Regions from separate parts of the Homo sapiens genome. Here regions 1, 3, 4 and 5 are each linked to region 2. Evidence: promoter capture Hi-C in 16 types of primary human blood cells and fetal thymus (Javierre and others, 2016). All regions are on one chromosome and are shown on one strand. Each heading gives the region's core, a stretch centred on a gene start or on the middle of the fragment in contact. The rest is flanking DNA. Distances are from core to core; before and after follow the strand shown. Region 1 overlaps ZSWIM6 (zinc finger SWIM-type containing 6). Region 2 holds the start of ERCC8 (ERCC excision repair 8, CSA ubiquitin ligase complex subunit). Region 3 overlaps ZSWIM6 (zinc finger SWIM-type containing 6). Region 4 has its middle 15 kb from the start of ZSWIM6. Region 5 overlaps ZSWIM6 (zinc finger SWIM-type containing 6).

Region 1 (3,092 bases), core at 141-2,640, 470 kb before region 2:
AGACCAACCAGGTCTTGAAAATTTCTACTAAAAATACAAAAAAGTAGCCGGGTGTGGTGGCAGGCACCTGTAATCCCAACTACTTCGGACGCTGAGGCAGGAGAATCACTTGAACCCGGGAAGCGGAGGTTGCAGTGAGCCAAGATCACAACATTGCACTCCAGCCTGGGCGACAGAGCAAGATTTCGCCTCAAAAAAATAAATAAATAAATAAATAAATCATAGACTAGTTCTGTATTGAATCCTTCTTTGTGTTAAAATTATTGAGCCTTTCAAAATCCCTGGATAGGTTTTATGAGTGCTATGAACAAAGCAGTTATCATTCCCCATTCCTTTAGCATAATCTACATTCAAATCACCATATTTGGTGCTGATAAAAGGACTGGACTGCAAGTTAAAAGCCTGTAGTCCTGGTTTTGATTCTCCCACTACTAGATATTTAGACCTCTGCAAACCACTTAATTTCTCACTGCCTCAGTTATTCATATGTAAATTGATGGACTGATTAGATCACCAATAAAGTACCTTCGAATTCTAAAACTCTACCATCCTGTGATATCCTCAATGGTTTTCACTTGGTTTCAAGGTCTTTCTTGAAGCTTCCTAATAAGAAAAACCACACAGTTTGCTTATGAAGCAAAACTGTGATATGTACAATCTGCTTTAAAAATTCACAGATAAACAATCTACCCATTCTCCAAAACTCTTGAGTATATCAGTTATTTAAATATAGAAAAAGACATGCATTCGCTTATAGTATTTCAAAACAAAAGTCCTTAACTGTACAAATTTAAAAGTATGCACTTCAGTGGTAAGGATCCGATTAGCTACAGTAATGATGGAGCACCAAGAAAAGCACATGCTAACATGAACCTCTTTTGATTAGCTTTTGCTTTTCATTTATGTTTCAGACTCTACTCACACAATCCACACAGCCCCTTAGGCAGCCTTTCTAATTACTGTGTTCTACAGTTCTGAAACTGTGTCCTCTAACCATACCTAAAAACAGTACCCATAGGAAAAGAAAAAACAGCATTTCTACCCATTTGAAGGCTTCTTTGGGAACCTGCATCTATTTATACTAAAAAAATCCACTTTGAAACTGAACTTGAATAATTTTAGTTGGCACGCTTGAGTGATTTTCATTTAATAATCTCCTAAACCTGTTTAATGTAGATAATATATATTGAGGCAGGATCTTCTAACAGATATAGGCAGTGAACTCCTTTGTGAACTCAAAGTCCTTTTCATTTCTGCAACTACAGTTCCAACCTAATTTCCATTAGTCTACAGGCAGATGCTAACAAAGGTATGCGCTTTTATTTTTTTTTTCTTCGAGACGGAGTTTGCTCTTGTTGCCCAGGCTGGAGTGCAATGACACAATCTCGGCTCACTGCAACCTCCACCTCCCGGGTTCAAGCAATTCTCCTGCCTCAGCCTCCCGAGTAGCTGGGATTACAAGCATGTGCCACTACGCCTGGCTAATTTTTGTATTTTTAGTAGAGATGAGGTTTCACCATGTTGGTCAGGCTGGTCTCAAACTCCTGATCACTGACCGAGGTGATCCACCTTGCCTCGGCCTCCCGAAGTGCTGGGATTACAGGCGTAGCCACTGTGCCCGGCCTTATGCACTATTTTGTTGTCTTTCTGTTCATACTTCTCATTCATTCCCTGTCTACCTTCCTCAACTTCTGTTCTTTCAAATAGGCTTTGTGTTTTCTAGTCTTAGCAACTTATTTGTGTTTCAATTCTGTCTTGCAATCTAATGGTGGTTGCTGGCAAGGCAGCTAGCTGGGGCTAGTGCACTGCGTGAGGCCAAAGGAAGGGGCAGAGCTAAACTAAATCACTCCAAGAGGGATGGACCTACAGGGATCAAACCTTTGATTCATCTCATTGGCATGAGGTCCTAAGCACCTGGCTAAAAAGCCTGCCTGCTGGTCACTCATCACTTCTGAGAGAATCAAGAAACAGGATTCTATCATACCCCCAGGAGGAGATCAGAGGTGTATAAGCTCTAACAGGTGATATAATCAGCTAGGAGGAAGATCAAAAGCAGCATGATATCAGAGGCTGTGGCTCCTGGAAACTACTGCTAGAGTGTCTAAAATTCTTATTAAAAATTTCAAGAAGTCTCATCGTTTCTGCGGGAGGAGGGGGAGATGAAGCTGTAAAAGAAGCTTCACTAGTAGGGAAATCCCAAGAGTTATTAGAATTGACTCATCTTAACAGGGCCTTGGTGAGTTATCAGCAGGTACAACAACACTGTGAAAACCGGCCTTTCTGCCTCCTTCCTCTCTATTCCTTCCAAGAATCTGGATTAATTCAGCAACAAAGGAATGCCATTCGTTCCACAAACTCACATGCAAAGAGAACACTTCCATATAACCCTTTTTGTATCCAGTGATTCCTAGACTCTGCATACTCCTCACCCAACACAAATGTAAGAAGGTTAGATTTAGATTACGATCCACACTTTTGGTTTTATAGTAACATCAGATTGCTGGTATTCTAAGCCCTGATAAACTTATCTTGAATAACTTAAGCTCCCATTACCTTTCATTGGTAAATGTTTCATGAAGTCTTTTTTGTCCTTAACATTCTCAGTTGTTTAAAACAAACCAAAAATCTTTTTTAAAGTTTTAAAGATCCAATTATTCCTTCTGAGGTAGAATGCAGCATATACATTAACTAACTTGAGCTCATCCAGCAGCAGATACTAAGTGGCCTGTAGTTGACTGGTTATGCCATTTTTTAACTGTGCCCTTTGTGAACTGTAGAGAAATGGGGCCCAGAACCTTTATATGGCCAATCAGTCCCCATGTCATATCCATCCCAACACACAAACATATTCTTACATAGGAATCAGTAGCGTTTTTTTTTTTTTTGGAGACAGAGTCTCACTCTGTCGCCCAGGCTGGAGTGCAGTGGCGTGATCTCGGCTCACTGCAACCTGTGACTCCCTGGTTCAAGCGATTCTCCTGCCTCAGCCTCCCGAGTAGCTGGGATTACAGGCACGTGCCACCACGCCCGGCTAATTTTTGTATTTCAGTAGAGACAGGGTTTCAATATGTTGGCCAGGATGGCCTCGATCT
Region 2 (3,233 bases), core at 274-2,773:
AACATCTCTCTGCTTGCAACCTGTCAAGAAATACTTAACACCATGCTATGTTCTTTGCAGGCTTTTTTCTTTTTTTGTGAGACATATTCCCTGCCTGACAGAGGAGCTCATTAGGGAAACAAGTCTAAATATTAAAATAAGTTACAGAAAAAGGCCAGGCAAAAATAAATTAATTGAGTGATAAATCACAGAATACATTTTATATGTGTGGGAAATGAATGGCACATAATCTTGGAAAGGTCTTAGTGCTTCTCAACATTGCTGATCTTATATTATCTCTAACTTTCAAGTGAGGATGTTGAGACTTGGAGAGGACAAGTACTTTTTCCGTGATTCCCGAGCTATCAGGTGTCAAAGCTGAGATTCTAACCCACGCCTCTTCGCCCAAAACCTGACATTTTCTGCATGCGGCGATGGAACAACACAGAAGAGGTTACGACGGCGGCTACACAGTGTGATTTCAATGGACAGCAACGCCTCCTTACTCCCCAAACAACCCGCTCAACTACTTGGCACGAATCCTACACAGTAACACCATGATTATTGCCACGTTTCTTAAATTGAGCTCAACGGGGTCTTGGAATGTCAACTCCCGAGAAAGGAATCAGCGAGCCTTGTGGGGATATGGACCTACTTCTGACAAGTCTTGGTAGTAAGGAAGGCGCATGGGGCCAGCGCCGGAGCCAGGGTGCCACCGAAAAGGGTAAACACCAAGAAAGAAGACAGCCGAGGCGCTGAAGATACTCCTCTTCAATTACACCACTCAGCTCTGGGTCACAAGGCGGGGAACAGCGTACGAAAAACCCCTCCCCTGGCCCTTCTAGCCCCTTTGGTGAAAGATTTCCGTGGACTTTTCCCTGCCTCCGTCGCCAGTCCAGGGCTAAAACTGAGGCTCCTCTACAGGCGTGGCTGGGAGGAAAGTGGTGGTGCGCCTTAACAGCGCAAGCAGCCCGGGGCACGCCGGGGGAAGGCGCTGGGTAGTAGGGACCGCGGACGCACGAGGCCGGGCCAAGGCGCCCAGAGCCGGGCCGGGTAGGGCTCCGATGCCAGAGTGAAGGGGTCGACAGGGGAGAACGAACTCGGGAAATTCTCTCCGGTGACACCCTAAGTGTCGCATGATGCGTTAGTTGACTAGGGGCTCTCACTTTTCCCTCCTTTACTGACCTCGCAATCACTGACCACGCAATCGCTGCCCACGCCGCCACCTCACCTCTCCAGTTCTTGTACTGCGGGATGTAGTAGTATTTGTTCCCGAATTGGTCCGTGCCCACGTGCTCCTTCACTTCCCTTGACAGCGATCTCCACAAGGCGCGGAACAAATCCTGAGACCAACCCATGCCGTCCACCCAGTTTCCAGCGCTGCCAGCAGCGGGACCCGCAGTAGGGGTAATGCTCCAGCCGCCGACCCAGCCCACCGAGGCGGAGAAGTCAGGTCGGCCTCCATCCTGGAGCCCTTCTAGTAACGGCGCTCACCATTGGCCGGATATATCACCGACTGACCAATGGGAGACTCTGCTGTTCCAGTCCCGCCCCTGAGCTCTGTCATGGCGACGTCCAGTGCTCCAGCCGGTGTGAGGACACGATATGCTGGGGTTTTTGTCCGCACGCCAAACGGGTTTGGAGGACCCTCTTCGCCTTCGGAGAGCAGAGTCAACACGGAGGTAAAGAAAACCTTACTTTTTGGCTAACAGGCCAGTTAGAATCTGGACCAATGACTGTAAGCTTTGCCCCACACTTTCCCGTCTCATCGCTCTCCTGCCACCAAACTATTATTTGCCCTCTAATGCTGTGTGGCTTGCTAAAATAGGATCCCTTTTATTTACTGGTAACAACTTGCAGGCGGGGGGCGGCGGGGGTGGGGGGGGTTCCCCGGGGGTGGGGGGGGGGTTCCCCCGCGGGCTCAGGTGAAGACACTATAAACCTAAATAAGAATACTTCGTTGTACTGTATTCCTTCTCTCTTAAGTTACTCCAAAGAATAACTGCCCTCCACGGACTCGTTCATTCATTCAGTCTGCATATTTAGTGAATTCCTACAGTGTGCCAGGCAGCCTATTAAAGGCAGAGGACACAGGCCAGGAATTGAACAAAGTTCAGAATGACTAGAGCGGAGAATTGGGGTAGGGACCATTGACAAGAGATGAAGTAGACAGAAACTAGATGAGGAAGAGCCTTGTGTACTTGAGTAGAGGTGTGAAGATGAGAATAAGGTAACAGCTATTGCATTTTGTTTTCTGCTTGGAGAATGGGTTGCAACTGAGAACAAGAGTGGGAGCCAAGTTAGGTAACTGTTGTGATTACACTTGTCCGGGAGAGAGTTGTTGGAAGCCTGGGCCACAGAGTTGCCAAGTAGAATAAAGATAGTGGAGAGATTTGAACAACGTCTGAGAAATAGAATCAACAGGCCATGGAAATTGAGTGGATACGTGAATGACAAAAAGAGAAGAATGAATAATGATTCCCAGATCTATGCCTTGTATAAGAAGTTGAATGTTGGTAATATACTCTGAGAGAGGGTTTTCCAAAGGGAAGAAGCAAGTTGTACTTTTAATTTTGCCCACATTAATTGAGGAACCTGTGAAGATATTTACTTGGAGAACACAGTTGCTTATGAGTTCTGCGTTCTGGAGAAATTTAAATATTAGTTTCCAACATTTTATCCATTACGTTTTCAATGTTGTGAAATATCTCTGAGAGTTCCTTTAATGTGTTTTTTTTGCCAGTGTCACTTCCTCTGACACATCATCAGCCTTTCATCACAATCACTTTTCCTCATTTATGTCTATAAGTTCACCTTCACTGATTTCCTCAGTCTGCATATCTAGAATGTCTCAAATGGCGGCAGTGTCATTGTTGCCACAATCAGCATGTTCCCACAGGCAGCTTTTTTTTCATTTGCTCCATTTATGTTTAATGCAAGTTTCACTTCTAGTATTATCACTCTTCTTTAGTGCACTTTCATTCTTTTGGCCAATTTCCTCTTTTAATCTGTAAAATTCCATGTGGGTTTATCTCAAGGGCACAGAAATATTAATAACAAACCTCCATGCTTTGCAGCCTGTGTGTGAACTGAATAACAGATGCACAGTGACCAATCACCCATAGACTTTGAAAGAAGTAAAATTGCAAATTGGTCAATTTTGATTCATATGTTATTTATGTAATGATTTGTGAACTGAAAAGCTAGTAGCAAACTTTTATGCTATTTCTCACGGTTAATAAACTGTGGTAACT
Region 3 (3,490 bases), core at 584-3,083, 390 kb before region 2:
ATATATACACTAAGTTGAGAGCAAACTTCTGTTGTTCTGTATCAGCACTTCAAACTTTCAGCAAATTCTTTATTATATGGGTATATGTATACATTCATGTAACAGCAAGTCCTCCACTTAATGCCATCAATAGGTTCTCGGAAAATGACTGTAATCAAAATGACATATTACAAAACCAATTTATCATAGGCTAATTGACATAAACAGTAATTTCCTATGGCATATTTCTGGTCACAAAAACATCACCAAACTTCTAAATAAAGACCACAACACTTCTAATATTAAACATTGAAATGAATGTGAGATGTACATACATTTTACGACGATTAATAAAAACAAGGTAATTCTTCACCCAGTTATTCCAGTTCAAGGTAGCAGGTGGCCAGAGCCTGTCCCAGCAGCTCAGGGAGAAAGGCAGGAACCCACCCTGGATGGGATGCACCCCCATTGTAGGGCACACTCACACACACCCACACTCATTCAGACTGGGGCCATTTAGATGGGACAATTTGCCTTAAGGTGCACATCTTTGGGATGTAGGAGGAAACCAGAGTACCCAAAGAAAACCCACGTAGACACAGGCCGACCATGCAAACTCCACCCAAGATAATGGCCCTGGCCAGAACTGACTTTTTTATTTTCTCATCAATGACATAGTGACACAATGTTATTCAAGGACTTGCTGTATAATCACACAGCTGTAATACAGTTTTGTAGTTAACAATCCTTTTTCTGAACTTTAATCTCAAACATTACTACGATTTCCAAATATCCACAAATGTTTTACACTAGCATGAACTGAGCATGCTAGAACCACTACTGCACTGCAGCCATTAGAATTTAGCCTGAAACTAAAATGCTATCTAGGAATACATTTATTAACATTCAATAAATGTTAGCCAAATAACCCCTCCAAAGAGTTCAAGTTACATTCAAGAATATGCTTGATTTCAGAGACTACCAAACTAAGACACGGCCCAAACAGTAGGAAAAATAAGCAACACGGCTTTGCCATTTCCTATGCCACTCTAAACAATTTACTCAACGAGTTTGGGCCTCAGTTTTCTTACCAGGAAAATGGGAAAAACTGAAATTGAAGTTATCTTTTTATCTCTGAAATCTCCATAGCTCCACTAGTAGATAACAACTATAATGCAAGAGTATTTTATTTACAAAAATACCTTTCCTCTTTCAGCATATTTTAAGAAGAAATGAACTGTGGATCTGTACAGAGGGGTCACTGAAATATGCATGTGGTTACAACATTCAAATTACACCTGGGTTAATTTGTCTCCTTTTCTGTTCACCTGTGGACATCATCACATATATATATTTGTAGACATATATACACACATACATTAGCTGACACAAAATTAGTTAAGCGAATTCCGCAGACATAAAACATTTAGCATACTCAAGCAACAGTTTACTATCAGCTGAAAGTCAATCTTTCAGTCAGCTGAAAGTTCAAAATGACAAGGAATTTTGCACCGTATTGTCTCTGAAGCTTGCTTTAGGGATCTTTTCTAGATGAAAAAAAATAAGGAAATGTCCTATTTTTAAAGAACTGAAAAGCAAGTACAAAGCATATTCTTAGAGGAACACAGGGCACTGAAAGCAAAAACTGAAAAGACAACCAGGTTTTTATCTAACAGACACACTTTACTTTTGAGATCTGGGTAGGATTGACAAACAAAACGTCTCTTCACAAGACAAGACTCAGTAACACTTTTCTCCAAATTATCATTTGATACTGATTTTTTCAAAGCACATGCACTTAAAGAGGGAAACAGTTCGTGGTTTTGAATTTAAAGTAATCCCCAAATATTTACATGTTAAAAAATTAATAAATCACAAAAACTAAATTAGCCTTTTTGTTGTGACAAAGCACTATTTTAAAAATTATACCACAGTAATTTGAAAGGTAGCTAAAAACGGTTTTGTGGGTTTCATACTGTTTACTACCTTTTTAAAAAGACCTGCCTATAACCCGCTTTGTTTCTAAGATATTTATAGTTACCTATAATCTTTCATTTTTAGGATATTTGTGCTCTTAAATATAACAGTTTAAGTCAACAACAGTTTGAGTTTAATGATTGCCCCTATAAAAATTTCTAACACTGAGTTTGTTTTATCATATGTATATGTAAGTAAGCTTCTTAAAATAAAGGTACCAAATTTATTTTGCCTCAGTGAAGAAAATTTACAGTCTAACACAAAAAAATATAAAGCATGTGGAAATAGTACAGATCCAGTCATGTGATTTTTTTTTTGAGACAGGTTCTCGCTCTGTCACCCAGGCTGGAGTACAGTGGTACAATCTCGGCTCACTGCAGCCTGCAGCCTCCACCTCCCAGGTTCAAGCGATTCTCCCGCCTCAGCCTCCTGAGTAGCTGGGATTACAGCGGTGTACCACTACGCCCGGCTAATTTTTGCATTTTAGTAGAGATAGGGTTTCACCATGTTGCCCAGGCTGGTCTCATGTGATTTTTCAAAGGGACAACTCTTATAAAACAAAACATGTCATTCCTACACTGCCTATTACTGAACACATTACTAGCTGAAATCACACATTCTTAACCGTGAATATGAGTGTAAGCAGAAAGAGATGCTGGTCCATATCTTTCCATATGAAACATTCATAGGGTTAGAATTGAGACAGCAATTGATTATCCATTTTTGTGGAAAAAAAAGAGGCCCAGGATAAAAATCTTAAAAATCAGTGAGGACATACTTAGAACAATAATGACTTAAACTGTTCAATTAATTGCAATAATTCTATTAAAGGACATGTTCCAAGGGCATCCTGATGTTTCTAAAAAGGCAGGCATCAGTCTCACAACCGCAAAATAGATGAAACTCAATGCAAAGTGGAAAAAAAATAATGAGGATAGCCTTTTCAATCCCAGGGTGTACTTGTAACACAACTGAGTTGCAAGAAATTAAAGACTTTAAAAAGAATGAAAATGTTTGCTTAACCCAAATCCGCCATTTTCACCTTCCATTATTGTCACTGTCTCTTGAACATTTTAGATTTTCTCAATGGAGCAATATTATCCTTCAGAGAACTAAGTATGATAACAAATTCCAAGTATTCCTAAAACTGAAAATTTAACTTCCTTCAGAACAACACTAAGGACCTATCAAATACTGAAATACTTTCAAAAATCACTTACATAAATCAAACATCTCAACTCACACAAAAGAACAATAAAAAATACCTATGCAACTGGTTTCAAAATGTATTGTGTATTTCATTAATCAAAAGGCAGAAAAAGGGTAGGATCTGACATAAAATTATTCTATATTAACCTTGAAAAAGCATTCAATGAAATGTACTATCAATAAACAAGCATCCAATTTTCAATGTGCATTCAGAATCGTCTTTATTTAGTGATCTCTAGTCTGTAAAGAAAAATCAAAATATTCAAAAACCAATAAATTATCTGACTGAAATTTGTACCCATCTTAATTCTAATAATGTTCTTTT
Region 4 (3,134 bases), core at 558-3,057, 370 kb before region 2:
CTGAATTCTGGGTAGTTCCCCCTCCCACCTCTATTGGTATAAAAGATAATATTCATGAGCAGAAAATGATGTTTGAGGAGGGCTGGCAACAGGACTTCCCGAAGAGCTGCACAGAAAATAGAGCTTCACAGTCCTCCCCCACCACATTCGGGTACCCGCTTAATGCTGCCCACACTGCAGGCCAGTGGAACCCACCACAATTAGACTTTGCCCTGGATCCTCCAGTGCCTTAGTGGAAACACTGTAATAGCAGGAATTACTATTCCAAAGGGGAAGAAACTTGGAGAGTATGTTTGGTTAATTCTTTGGTTGCATGTGATGCTAAATACAGATATTTGTGCTGTTGGCAACATCTTAGGAAGTGATTTAACCCACTGGCATAGCCAGACATAATTTGTCATGTGGCCCTGTGATTTTAACCCCACTCGTTTCTCCCGTATGATTACTTCCATCATGTTTGTGTGTTAGTTACTTAGGACACATCTTTATTTCAGAGGCCTCGAAGTCCTACTTGACATTTCTAACTTAGAACCTAGACTTCTCCCTTCCTGAACTTATCTGCTTTCTTCAGGAACAGATCCGGGAGGCCACAAAACTAACCACCTACCTCTACTCTTCCTACTCAAGCAGTTGGACCTGGGCTGGTGTGTTACAAAACTCACCATTACGCTAGATCCTTTCCCAGCCTGGCAGGCACACCCACACAGCCACCATCAAGTATTCCCTAGGGTTAGAACAGTCCAGGGCTTTGTGAATTGGTACTCTCTTCATATCTCATATTTCAACATAACTTCCAATGAGAATCATACAGTTAGTTTTGGTTTATAAAAGTCTACTAGATCAACAACAAACAAAAACTTGGCCACTAATTTTAACCTGCAATCAAACAGCAGTTCATTCATTTAAGTTTCATCCCTTTCTTTTCCTAAATCAGTCTCGAATAAAGGGGGGGGGGGATTTTTAATGATAAAAAGTAGAAAACCGAAGAAGCAAAAGGCCCGAGATACCCCACAAATAAAGAAGCAGTTGCAGACCATTAATGATCACTAGGAATGGAATCACAGAAAGAGGTACTCAAGGGAGTTTGAAAGTTTGAAAGACCACATTCAGCCTGAACCCTCAAGAAAGTGTCTAAGAGAAAGTAGGCCAAAACAACAATGAAGTTAGGGTGAAAAAGATGTGAGTTTAGTTTTCAAAATGTCATGTCTGTATTGAGTGTCCTTTTGGTTCGAACAAGAAACAAAGAGAGAAATCAAACAGCTTCACTGACAAGCAGAGCAGTTGGCAAAGAGACCAGGGTAAAATCTTGGGAAACCCTTCAATGTGTAGCCTAAAAACAACACTAAAGAATCGTTGTATTCCTTCAGTAGAGCTCTATTTTCCCAAGTCCTACTTTCTTCATAGCAGACGATTCCCACTTTCAATCTGCTCTTAATTTTGCCCCATGTCATCACTGACACCTGGGTCTCTCTGTGGATTTCTTTCTTTGAATGTTTTTAAAGCTTCTGGGGAGTCTATTTTTATTCATTCATGCCATATATTAAACTATTTTAAGTATGATCTCAATAACATATGCTTATTAAAATATGGATTAAAAATGAATTATTAAAATAATCTACTTTATCCTGCTTATAAGCACAAAGGCTGACTTGATTCCAGAACAAGGCCATGACCAGGTAGTTTTGCCTGTGGCGACTCCTTCCAGCCGTCAAAACAGAAAGCTTCTTACTATAAAACAAAGTGAAAAGGGAGGTCTAGAGTTGTATTCATTCTCTGGGATGCTCTTGAGAGTGTAAACAGATCACCAGGTTTTCCTCAGTTGTTCCCAGTATGTACGGACATGGAAGTTTCTTTAGGGAAATACTTCTGTTACAGTGACCACAGTGAAGCTTTGGATTATCTTGAGCCTACAACACATTTTGTGAACACCATTTATTAATATCAATGTGCTTTGTTTAGGCCACCTAGAGCAATAACCACAAAAAAATTGATAAATTAGATTTAAGCAAAATAAAAAACCTCTCATGAAAAGAGACCATTAAAAAATGAATAGTCAAGACATAGACTGGAAGAAATTATTTACAAAACATAAACTTGACAGAGGACTGATATCCAGGATATGTAAAGGACTCCCACTTATTAATAAAGAGAAAACATTTTTTGAATGGATGGAAGACACTCTACCAAAGAAGATATATAAATGGCAGATAAGCACATGACAACGTGCTCAATATCTTTAGTCATTAGGAAAATGCAAATTAAAACCTGAAGTATCACTACTGCCAGGATGGCTTAAAATATAAAGACTGAATACACTAAATGTCAGCAAAGATGGGGAGCAACTGGGACTCCCATACATTGTTGATATGAACATAAAATGGTACATCAACTTTGGAAAAATAAATAGCATTTTCTTCAGAAACTAAATATATACTAGCTGTGATCCTGCAATTACATAAGTAGGTCTTTTCCTAAGGGAAATGAAAACATATGTTTATCAAAATACTTGTATAAGAGTGTTCATAGCAGCTCTATAAGTAATAGTCAAAAACTGAATACAGCCCAGGTATCCATCAAGAAGAGAACGAATGCACAGGGGCCGGGCACGGTGGCTCACTGCTGTAATCCCAGCACTTTGGGAGGCCAATGCAGGCGGATCACTTGAAGTCAGGAGTTCAAGACCAGCCTGGCCAACCTGGTGAAAACCCTGTCTCTACTAAAAATGCAGAAAATAGCCGAGTGTGGTGGTGAGTGCCCGTAATCCCAGCTACTCAAGAGGCTGAGGCAAGAGAATCGCTTGAACCCGCTTGCAGTGACCTGAGATCACGCCACTGCACTCCACCCTGGGCAACAGAGTGAAGCTCCATCTCAAAGATAGAGAGAGAGAGAGAGAGAGAGAGAGAAAATAAGTGTGCAAACTGTGGTTTAGTCATACAATGGAATACTACTTAGCAGTATAAAAGAATGAGCTACTACTGTTCACACAATAACGTCAACAAATCTCAAAAAGATTATGCTGAGTGAAAGAAGTCTTACACAAAGAATTCATCCTATTTGACCCATTCATATGAAATTATGGAATAGACAAAGCTAATCTGTGGTGAAAAAAATCAAAACAGTGGTTGCCTCTGGGT
Region 5 (3,228 bases), core at 68-2,567, 450 kb before region 2:
TACTGTACATGTGTCCCCACTAAGAATTTAGCTCTGAGGGCTTTGTAACCAGAGGATTCTGGTCCCTCAGGAACACGAAGATGAAGCCTCACTGTGCTTAAACCTTCTGTCCAACTCAGTAGGTGTTGACAGATTGTGGAAAAGGCAAAAGAAGGTCTTATGTTTTCACTTCAGTCAAAAGACAGAGATGGAATCTGTTCTGGTAAATAAAGAGGAGATTTCAGTATGTGAGACAAACTGGAATGCCAATGTTAGTAATTTTCTCAACGAAGTCACATATTAGGATTTAATCCATAATTAGACAAACTCAGTGTTTTCAAATAAAACACATTTTTCAAATAATAGACACTGATTATCTTTAAAAAAAAAAAAAAAAAAAACATACACAGCCAGGCGCAGTGGCTCACACCTGTAATCCCAGCCCTTTGGGAGGCTGAGGCGGGTGGATCACCTGAGGTCAGGAGTTTGAGACCAGCCTGCCCAACATGGAGAAACCCCGTCTCTACTAAAAAAATACAAGAATTAGCCTGGCATGGTGGCATGCGTCTGTAGTCCAAGCTACTTGGGAGGCTGAGGCAGGAAAATCACTTGAAACCAGGAGGCGGAGGTTGCAGTGAGCAGAGATCGCACCACTGCACTCCAGCCTGGGTGACAGAGCGAGATTCTGTCTCAAAAAAAAAAAAAAAAAAAAAAAAAAAACAACTATACACAACTTGCTCTCCTTCAGCCCCCTGCCCTACCATTCCGCCATAAGCTCAAGGTCATCCTTCCTTCTCTCACTAAAAAGCATCCTAATGACACCAGTACACAAATTCAGTTTGCTTCATAACTCAGAGAAATTTATTCTCAGAACTGAAATTATACAATGTTTACTTTAATCCTAAAATCAAAATTGTAATGAACCTCTGCTGGGGCTAATCAGGTACCACAATACTGTGCTATGCATTTTTTAAGCACGTTGATAAATATTTTATTGAATTTTACAGATAAGGAAAAACGAGGTTCCAAGAGATTAAGTTACTTGCCCAGGGTCAAGAGTTACTAAGTGCTGGAACCAGGATTCAAATGCAGAACTTAAGGCTCCCAAATCTTAAACACTATACAACATTGCCTGGCTAGTTGCTCAAGGAGAGCTGATGCTATAAAGGCGGCAGTCCCCAACCTTTTCGGCACCAGGGACCGATTCATGAAAGACAATTTTTCCATGAACTAGGGGTAGGGGGATAGTTTCAGGATGAAACTGTTCCACCTCAGATCATCAGGAATTAGATTCTCATAAGGAGTGTGCAACCTAGATCCCTTGCATACACAGTTCACAATAAGGTTCACCCTCCTATAAGAATCAGAATCTCTGCTGATCTGACAGGAGGCGGAGCTCAGGCAGTAATGCTCAATTGCCTGCCACTCACCTCCTGCTGTGTGGCCCAGTTCCTAGAACGCCAGGGACCTGTAGGGTTCCATGGCCCCAGGGGTTGGGGACCCCTGCTGTGAGACTCCACACTTCAACTGGAACCACAGCAAGAGAGCAGGGCCCAAGATCACTTAAGAGTTTCACAGGTATCAGATGGCAAGAAGTCCCATTCTCTGAAATACTATTGAGATTCTATTTTGCAACCAGAGGCTTACAGGACAGCAGGGAAGACTAAGTATAGACATGAAAATGATATTCCTTTTGTTTTGAAGGTAAAGTGGGAAGTCTCTTAATAGTTACATTAATAGGTAAATTTCATTTCTTTCTGTGCTAGGCACTGCGACCAAACTCCTTTTCTGTTCCCTCTCAACGTGGATTAAGTAGATTTGGACCATAAAGCCCATTCTCTACACTTGGAGTTAGTGAGCTAAAAAGGCAATAAGGACTCCATCCCCTTCAGAAGTCACTCACAACAAAAGATTTAATTCAAAATTTAGGTGAAGATTACTTCTATGCTAAAATTTTAGGAGTCATTTAACATTTTCCTTTAGTATGTTTGATTATAATTTTCAATGTGTGTGCTACTTTTGGAATTCTTTTAAAGGTTCATGTTTTTAAAACAAAGTAAACTGCCTCTTAAAAAAAAAAAGTCACTCACAACTACTTGGCTGTCACTGATGGGCTGTGCATGCCACAGTCCCTGGAGGACCCTACTGCAGGGCTGATGATTCACAGCACGTGCAGACCAACAAAAACAAACTGCCATTTTTCTCCTGAAATGAGGATTTATAGTCATGATTGCCACCCCCTGGGGGCACTTCACTGACTCCCTAATATAACACTCAAGGTGAATCTGATTAAAATCTAATTTATCAGTGGTAAATCCAATGTATTTAAATTTAAGAAAACTCATTTTGATTACATAAAAACATTTGTATAAGATGTTTTAGATATATATACAGTATTACACACAACTGGGATAATGTTTTTGGCGGACAGGAAGGTACAGCCTGAACTAATTTAATGGTTTTTAGATTGAGTCTAAACCAATGTCCAAAACTGAAAAACCTGGTTATTTCATACAACAAACAAATTCAGGCAAATATTGACAATATGGCAACAGAACTTAGTTCTAGTACCACATCTTACTGCTGAATATTGGGACAATCATGGGTAAGTCATTACCCTCTCTGAGAAGCAGTTCCCTACCTAACCTGTAAATTGGTAACAGTCATTTTAAACTCTGTAAGGGCAAACAAATTTATTGTTATTATGTTTATAATACTCCTAAGAGAATAACTATGTCCACTTCAACAATTTAATAAGGAATATTTGGAAGACATTAGACGGATAATTCATTTAACTCCCCTTTCTCCCAAAAAAATCTGTGTTTTCTGTATATTTTTTATTTAGCAACAGGTAAAAATTTTAACCAAAAACTTAATTTTAAAATGTTTAATTAATTTTAAAGTGTAGATAACCCACCAACCTTGGTAAACTATTTAAACCAGGCCAATATGAATGAAACTAAAATATGACACTATGCCATTGAAAAAAGAATCTGCCACCAACACTGCCATCTTACATTTGTTCAGAATTTCCAAGTTAAATACAATGTTGTATTCACATTTGAATGAAAACATTCAATTCTCTTTTTTTTTTTTTTTTTTTGAGACAGAGTCTCACTCTGTCACCAGGCTGGAGTGCAGTGGCGCGATGTCGGCTCACTGCAACCTCTGCCTCCCGGTTCAAGTGATTCTCCTGCCTCAGCCTCCTGAGTAGCTGGGACTACAGGTGTGCGCCACCATACCCAGCTA

What was found. Contacts are between HindIII fragments. The CHiCAGO score rates a contact against its expected background, and 5 or more counts as called.
Region 1: a fragment that was not itself captured here is called in contact with the fragment with the promoter of ERCC8 in region 2 in 5 of 17 cell types (activated CD4 T cells, total CD8 T cells, non-activated CD4 T cells and 2 more); the score reaches 7.3 in activated CD4 T cells.
Region 3: a contact is called between a fragment that was not itself captured here and the fragment with the promoter of ERCC8 in region 2, in 7 of 17 cell types (activated CD4 T cells, total CD8 T cells, total CD4 T cells and 4 more). The highest score is 10.1, in activated CD4 T cells.
Region 4: a fragment that was not itself captured here is called in contact with the fragment with the promoter of ERCC8 in region 2 in 2 of 17 cell types (non-activated CD4 T cells and activated CD4 T cells); the score reaches 5.9 in non-activated CD4 T cells.
Region 5: a fragment that was not itself captured here is called in contact with the fragment with the promoter of ERCC8 in region 2 in 1 of 17 cell types (total CD4 T cells); the score reaches 5.9 in total CD4 T cells.

Annotation. Positions count from the first base shown.
Region 1 is chr5:61,415,386-61,418,477 of GRCh38, reverse strand. All of the region lies in intron 1 of ZSWIM6 (zinc finger SWIM-type containing 6), which reads right to left. Among named protein-coding and RNA genes, the nearest start is that of ZSWIM6, 85 kb to the right of the region's middle. RefSeq lists enhancers at 1,005-1,631, 1,632-2,259, 2,260-2,886. The HindIII fragment of the contact is 1,578 bases long and covers 602-2,179 here.
Region 2 is chr5:60,943,360-60,946,592 of GRCh38, reverse strand. ERCC8 (ERCC excision repair 8, CSA ubiquitin ligase complex subunit) reads left to right here and starts at 1,523. Exons shown (of 12, transcript NM_000082.4): 1 at 1,523-1,661. The coding sequence starts at 1,585. It overlaps NDUFAF2 (NADH:ubiquinone oxidoreductase complex assembly factor 2), which reads right to left and starts at 1,388. Exons shown (of 4, transcript NM_174889.5): 1 at 1,211-1,388. The coding sequence starts at 1,337. RefSeq lists an enhancer at 623-752. The HindIII fragment of the contact is 6,619 bases long and covers 1-1,724 here.
Region 3 is chr5:61,338,196-61,341,685 of GRCh38, reverse strand. All of the region lies in intron 1 of ZSWIM6 (zinc finger SWIM-type containing 6), which reads right to left. Among named protein-coding and RNA genes, the nearest start is that of ZSWIM6, 7.7 kb to the right of the region's middle. The HindIII fragment of the contact is 648 bases long and covers 1,510-2,157 here.
Region 4 is chr5:61,315,822-61,318,955 of GRCh38, reverse strand. No RefSeq gene overlaps it. Among named protein-coding and RNA genes, the nearest start is that of ZSWIM6, 15 kb to the left of the region's middle. The HindIII fragment of the contact is 168 bases long and covers 1,724-1,891 here.
Region 5 is chr5:61,396,384-61,399,611 of GRCh38, reverse strand. All of the region lies in intron 1 of ZSWIM6 (zinc finger SWIM-type containing 6), which reads right to left. Among named protein-coding and RNA genes, the nearest start is that of ZSWIM6, 66 kb to the right of the region's middle. The HindIII fragment of the contact is 7,030 bases long and covers 1-3,228 here.